2 separate regions of the Homo sapiens genome follow, and region 1 is linked to region 2. Evidence: promoter capture Hi-C in human tissues and cell types (Jung and others, 2019). All regions are on one chromosome and are shown on one strand. The core of a region is centred on a gene start or on the middle of the fragment in contact, and the rest is flanking DNA. Distances in the headings are between cores, read along the strand shown.

Region 1 (3,227 bases), core at 651-3,150, 790 kb before region 2:
ACATAATAAGCTGTCCTTCATCCCAAGTTTAAAGGGAGCAGTTGAACATGTAAAGCATTGCTAATCCCGCTGGCCTTGGAAAAATGCAAAGGTGTAAGTTATTTCTTTTCATTATCTCCCTTCCCTTTTCCCCGCCTTCCCCTTTCTTTTCCTTCTCTTCTGCCCTCTCCCTTCTTTCCTTCTGTTCTCTCCCTCCCTCCCTTTCTAGACTATTTCTTGAATGCGTATTATGTGCCAAGCACCATTCTAGGTGCTAAGGATACAGCTATTATCATAGAAGAGTCCCCATCCTGAGGAAGCTTACATCCCACCAAGGAAGATAGGAAACAAAAAATAGGTGGGTATCTTTGATAATGGGAATTTTCCTGGTTCACTTTATCAAAGTAGTTCAAGAGTGTTTCCTTCCAATGCTAGTTCGTGCATCTGGTTATGAGCCAGGCCAGATGTTTTGTACAGAGGCTGATGTAATTCCAACCAGGCCTGATGCATGATAGGGATTCAGTGGCTGTTGAAGGAATGAATTTATTTCTGAAATGTGATTAGTTAGGTTAACAAATAGTTCAAATTACTCAATGAAATGTCAATACATACCTACAATTTCCCTATAAGGTCAACCTAAAACTACGCAATGAATGTGCTATGAAATTCTTATCTCTATTAAGAAAAATCTAGTTCATATTAAGCCAATCTTACCAGAAAAACCAGCCAAACTAGTAACTTAGGTATATGAGTGTGCATGTGAGTACACACACACACACACACACACACACACACGCCTTGCCCTGATCGTAGCAACCTCATGTCTGGAAAGAGTTAAATACTGAGTATAGTCTACATTATTTTTTTAAAATTCTTTATTCTTTTATCAAGTGCTCTCTTGGCAAAATCAACTGAGTATATTCTAGTCTTCTTTACTTTGGGGCCAGCTATTTCATGAAGTATTATTTAAGAATAATTTGCAAGACAAAAAATAGTGGCATACATCAGCAGAGCCCAGGAAGAAGTATTCACATCTCTGCTTTATTTACCTTGCTGCTGCCACCACCAACTCTGCCAGCACCATTGCCACCACCATGGCCTCTACCATAGACCACTTCCCAGTGGGATCTTTCCTTCTCTTTACCTCTCTTCCGTTATCCTTCTTCTACACTGTCACCATCTTCTCACCATTCTTTACAGCCCTCCCATCCCTGTAAAGCTGTTGTCCCATATATTGCTCTACTCTGTCTGTCATTTGTCTCTAAAATGCCCTATTGTGCATGTGTCTTTGTTATGCAGTCTCTTGTCACTGTCTGTTTTAGTGAGCCTGTGTTCCTGCATCTGTCCCATATCCCAAGTGCTAAGGTACGGCGTGGCATTGTACACCAGTTGTGAGTCCAATTTCTTTTTCTGAACCCAAACTTTTTTTTTTTGCCATGACCTTGCTGAACAGCCTCAGTTGTGTAAAGTTACTTCAGAGCAATGGGTTTTCAGTTAAAACATGTGACATTTATGTACAGAGACAGAGAACAAAGAAAGCTTCAAGGCCCCTAGAAGGAATGTGAAATGTGTGTTCTCTGAGTTCATATTCAAGAACCACTTTTCCTATTGTCTCCCATAAAGCTATTACTGCAGCTTCAATTTAAAATGCTTATTTTTACTGAGTTTAATTTAGATACACATTTGCATTGTAAAATGGGTACTTTAAAAATAATCATTTTAGTCTTAGGCATAAATGCTAGTTCTTTGTAAGAGAAGTAACTTCCTGAGTTGCATGTTATTGCTAAGGGCGAAGTAAATTTCTGGAGTGAAATTTAACCTTCTGTCTGCTCTTATTACCGGGAATAGTTTGAATTTGGTATGTATCAAGACTTTTGTGTTAAATTTATAGAATTTCTTTATAACCAAAGAGTTGTATTAAGACAATTTTATCTTGTTACAGTAGTTAAGATTGGTAAACACTTATTAGGCATCAGCAACATATTAGTCTCTGAAAGAAAAATGAAATCTCATCTTTGTCCAGTGGATTCACAATGACATTTATATATACATAATGAAGATATAAGAGGGAATGATATTATTTCATGTATTGTTGGCACCCAGCACATGGTGGAAACTTAACAAGAACCATGATAATGCAGTTTCGTGTTTCTCTAACATATACTAAGTTCTTAGTAAATAATTTCTAGATGTATCATTTTCCTTTCTGCTTGTTTAAATCCAAGAAGGTGCTGCATTCAAGAGTGAAGCAAGCACAAAAGGAAAGGAAAAATCTCTCCCTGGAGGAGAATGCAGACAGACAGACAGACGCTATTTGTATCTTTGCGTCCGAAGCACAGCAGCTAACACACAGTAGGTGTGAGGCATCAATATTACCTGGTAACCTCTCTTGTTCTGTTCATTTCAACTTTTCTAAGTTCATTTGCAACCCGAATTTCTACAAACTCCAATTTAAGCAATGTAATACAAGTGAGAATATTAGCATTCAAATATTTAGAAGTCTTATCCTCTCATTTTGAATAAAACAACTTCTATTTACTAATATTGTACAACATTTTAGCACAATTGATACCCCTGAAGACTTCCATCATTGAAGAAGGGGTTCTGAATATCATAGGTTCATATTAAATCTTTCTTTAGTAGAATTTACTCATCTGGAAGTCACATGTTTAGTTGGGTTATTTTAAATGGTAAATCTTAAAAAGCCCACAGATGAAACGAGTGTATCTTTTAATTATCCAAAGTAATGCAGCCTTCAACCCCACAGATTAACTCCAACATCTGGTATTTGAAGGCATGTGATTCTTAAGGATGGTAGACTTGCCTTTAGAAATTTGTTTTGTTTAGGATAGCCTTTAAATAATTTTTAACTGATTAAACTCCCACCAGTGAATGATACAAAGGCATCCTGTGTAGCAAGGAAGCCAGCCAGCCTGGGGTTCAAAAGTGGCCTGGGATTATATACAAAGTGAATGATGAATATATTTATAGTACAAAGTTAACAAGAAAAGCCATCATTGTGTGCATTTTTTTCTTCCATATGCTGTAACGTATAATGTATTTTATGGGGAGACTGGAGGAGATAGAGGGGGGAGAGAGAATGAGAAGAGGGTTGTGAGTTGGGTGGCTACTGAAACACCTCTTTGCTTTTTTCCTAAATTCTCTGAAGTGGCCTGTCTTAGTCCCAACCAAGCCAGAAGTATTGGCCTCCTTCAGCCATTATGCTGTCTGTAAAAGCACTGATTTAC
Region 2 (3,113 bases), core at 563-3,062:
AACACGGCCTTTCAGATCCGGAGTTCAAAGCATAGTTAGCATTATAATTTCAGCAGAGAATCCAGAATTGGCAGGATATCACCAGTAGGGTGACTTTTTTTCTTTTCCCTAGCAAACAGTAGAGCAGTATGTAGTTTCTCCCCCCGCCCAGACGGAGTTTCGCTCTTTCTCCCAGGCTGGAGTACAGTGGCACGATCTCGGCTCCCTGCAACCTCCGCCTTCCGTTTTCAAGCTATTCTCCTTCCTCAGGCTGCCGAGTAGCTGGGATTACAGGCGCCCCCCACCACGCCAGGCTAATTTTTGTATTTTTAGTAGAGGCGAGGTTTCACCAAGTTGACCAGGCTGGTCCCGAACTCCTGACCTCGTGATCCGCCCGCCTCAGCCCCCAAAGTGTTGGGATTACAGGCGTGAGCCTCCGCGCCCGGCACAGTATGTAGTTTCTAACTACAATTTCAAAAACAAAAACAAAAAAACCCCCCCCGCCCCCGCAAAAAAAAACCTCAAAAAAAAAAATGTGACACATAAATACACAACCTTAACTGTGTATTTTACTGGGATTGTAGAAAGGTATCAAATGGGCATGCAAGTAAGGTCCTTACGGAGTAAGAAAACGCCCAATGAACAGTACTTAATATGAATTCGACATCGTTAACACTGAGCGCTTGCTGTGTGCCAGCGCGCAGCATAATTCGAAGCAGCATGACTTTGCACAATGACATATTCTACAAGTCCAGTTTCCTAAGGAGTGCCCTTAGGTTACATATAACCTAAACGTGAAATGTAGAAGTACATAAAGGAGGCATAAAGTTAAAGGGGAAAAATTATAAATACTAGAAAAAATTGCATTGTATTATTTTGATGGCTGAAAAATGGGCTCGACCCTGCATGCACGCGTTCTCCATTGAGCTCGACAATATGCAGTATTTTGTTTCACGTTATGTCGCAGTCTTAGGGAGGAGTGAAACGTGGAACACGACTTCACATCAAAAATGCACGTTGCAGAGGCATTTTTCCTTCGGGGACGCCGGAAGACTTCGCCACACGCGCGCCCTCTCCGCGGACACCAACGTGCTGACGCATGTTCATTAGCGAGCTGCTCCCTCCATTTTGTCCCCAGTCTCCTTTAGGCGAACTGCGCGGTTCTATGTTAAAGCCACTTAGTAATGAAACTATAAAAGGGAGGAAGTGGGGTGGGCGTGGGAGCCCCGTTTGCGCAAGGCAGGCGCGGGGGACTAAATGGCTGCTGGTGCAGAGTGGGGCTGCCCCGGCACCAAGGGCTCGTCCCGTGGCCGGAAGGACAAAGGACACTTAGGGGACGAGGGCCGCCGAGCCAGCGCGGAGCGCCTTCCGGGTCGGTGGGCTGGGGCGGGCTGGGGGCTGGGGCCGGGCCGACCCCCGCGGTGGGGCCCACCCCGCAGGACAAAGCAGCGGCCCCGCCCCTCGGCGCGCGCCCGAGGCTCGTGCGTGTGAGCACGCGCGCCGGAGACGGTTAGAAATGGCGGTTGGGGCGGAGCAGGGGGCTGGCGCGGGAAGCGGGGCTGTCTGGCTCGGTTACGCCCCCACCTCGCCAGGAATCTAGGAGTCGGTTTGTTTTCCGAACCCATCTCCTTCCGCTCTCCCGCCCCTGCAGGCTGTGTGCCGAGCTTGGAAGAAAGTGTGACCCGTTCGACGGAACAAAGGACATGACAGCCCGGCCCCGTGCGGCCACTGCGGAGCGTTAGGAACATTCCCTAAAATGGCGGCCGGCGCGTCGGAACAGGGCGGGAGGCGGCGGCGCGTGGGGGCGGGACGGGGAGGGGCGCGGCCAGCCGGGCTTCTGCTTCCGCGACCCCGGCGGTGCAGGGCGGGTGGAGTCGCGGAGTAGTCCTCATGGCCGCCCCGCCGGAGCCCGGTGAGCCCGAGGAGAGGAAGGTAACCTGGGGGTCGGCGGGGCGCGCGCCGCGGGTGGGCGGTGGGTAAGGACGTTCTCCGCGGAGCTCCTAGGCCCGGAGCACGTGTCACTGGCTTCTCTGCCACCCATGGGCTTGAAACTATTTTAACTGTTCCTAGTCCTTATCCCAAGCCTCCAACATTTTAATCTAAGTGGCCGGGACAAAATTGACCAAAACTAGGGGGAGGAGGGGACCAGTAGTACTAATGACTTACTACAGGTCATTATGAAATAAGCTAACAATACTGAATCTTTGGCGAGAAAATTTTGCTGCTAAGGGCACTGCACTGTAATTTGTTAGTAAAGGCTAATAGTAGAGATTAAAGCTCCGTTGAGGACAGGTGCCTTGTCTTTAACACGTTGTATTCATCACATTTAACATAGGAGTAATTGCTGAGGGATGACTTGATTGTACTACGATGAGATGAAGGGTTAAGATTTCTTCCCCATCACCAGTAGCCTCCCTAGCTGGTGTCCCTGTCTCCATACTCTCCTGAATCCACCTTCCACTATTGTCCGCTGGCCCTTTCCAGCCTGTAAACTGGACAGTTTTCATTCCTCTGCCTAACATCCAGTCGTAGCAGCCCATCCTATCTCTTTAAGGATAAAACCCAAATTCTTGGTATAGTAAAGCTAAACCAAGCGCTCTCCCTGGAAGGGCTCCTGTGTTTCACCAAAGCTGACTTACGTACTTTCCCCATCTTCCCAGGCATCTTGTACGTCGTTACATTTATCATATTGGAAGGTAATAAATGATCTTGTTTTCCTCTTTTCCTGGGCTCCTTATTAAGAGCAGGGAACCTAATTTATATCCTCAGGGCAGAACAGGTATTCAGAAAAGAATAATGCAAGAGGAAAAAAGTTTAATATAAACTAGGGAGATCGTAACATTGGCTAATCACGAGCAAATATTTATAGAAGACCCACTGTGTGCTAAATGGCTCCTAATATATACTTAAGATATTCTCCCAGCTTGGAAATTCTGCTCACTTCTTGCTCTTGCTTGCTTCTCTGGTGGGCTTCCATCCAAATTTGGCCATGACATCAGATCATATGGTTAATATTAACAAATATTGTATAAATTGTTTTCATACTTAATATCCAACAGGTTGTCAGTTTACGTACTACTGGTGCCTTATCTGTTTTTACTGTCCCATACACTGCCCATCTGGAATAAGCTTAG

Evidence for each region. The method cuts DNA at HindIII sites, captures the fragments that hold promoters and counts their contacts. A contact is called where the count stands out against the background at its distance.
Region 1: a fragment that was not itself captured here is called in contact with the fragment with the promoter of COX20 in region 2 in 1 of the 25 tissues and cell types used here (ovary).

The regions. Positions count from the first base shown.
Region 1 is chr1:244,041,219-244,044,445 of GRCh38, forward strand. It overlaps LINC02774 (long intergenic non-protein coding RNA 2774), which reads left to right. Exons shown (of 12, transcript NR_033883.1): 9 at 209-337; 10 at 2,205-2,331. Among named protein-coding and RNA genes, the nearest start is that of ZBTB18, 8.5 kb to the right of the region's middle. The HindIII fragment of the contact is 5,750 bases long and covers 1-3,227 here.
Region 2 is chr1:244,833,846-244,836,958 of GRCh38, forward strand. COX20 (cytochrome c oxidase assembly factor COX20) reads left to right here and starts at 1,813. Exons shown (of 4, transcript NM_198076.6): 1 at 1,813-1,911. The coding sequence starts at 1,870. RefSeq lists enhancers at 1-483, 987-1,046, 1,587-1,706 and silencers at 1,207-1,546, 1,787-1,836, 1,877-2,166. The HindIII fragment of the contact is 9,754 bases long and covers 1-3,113 here.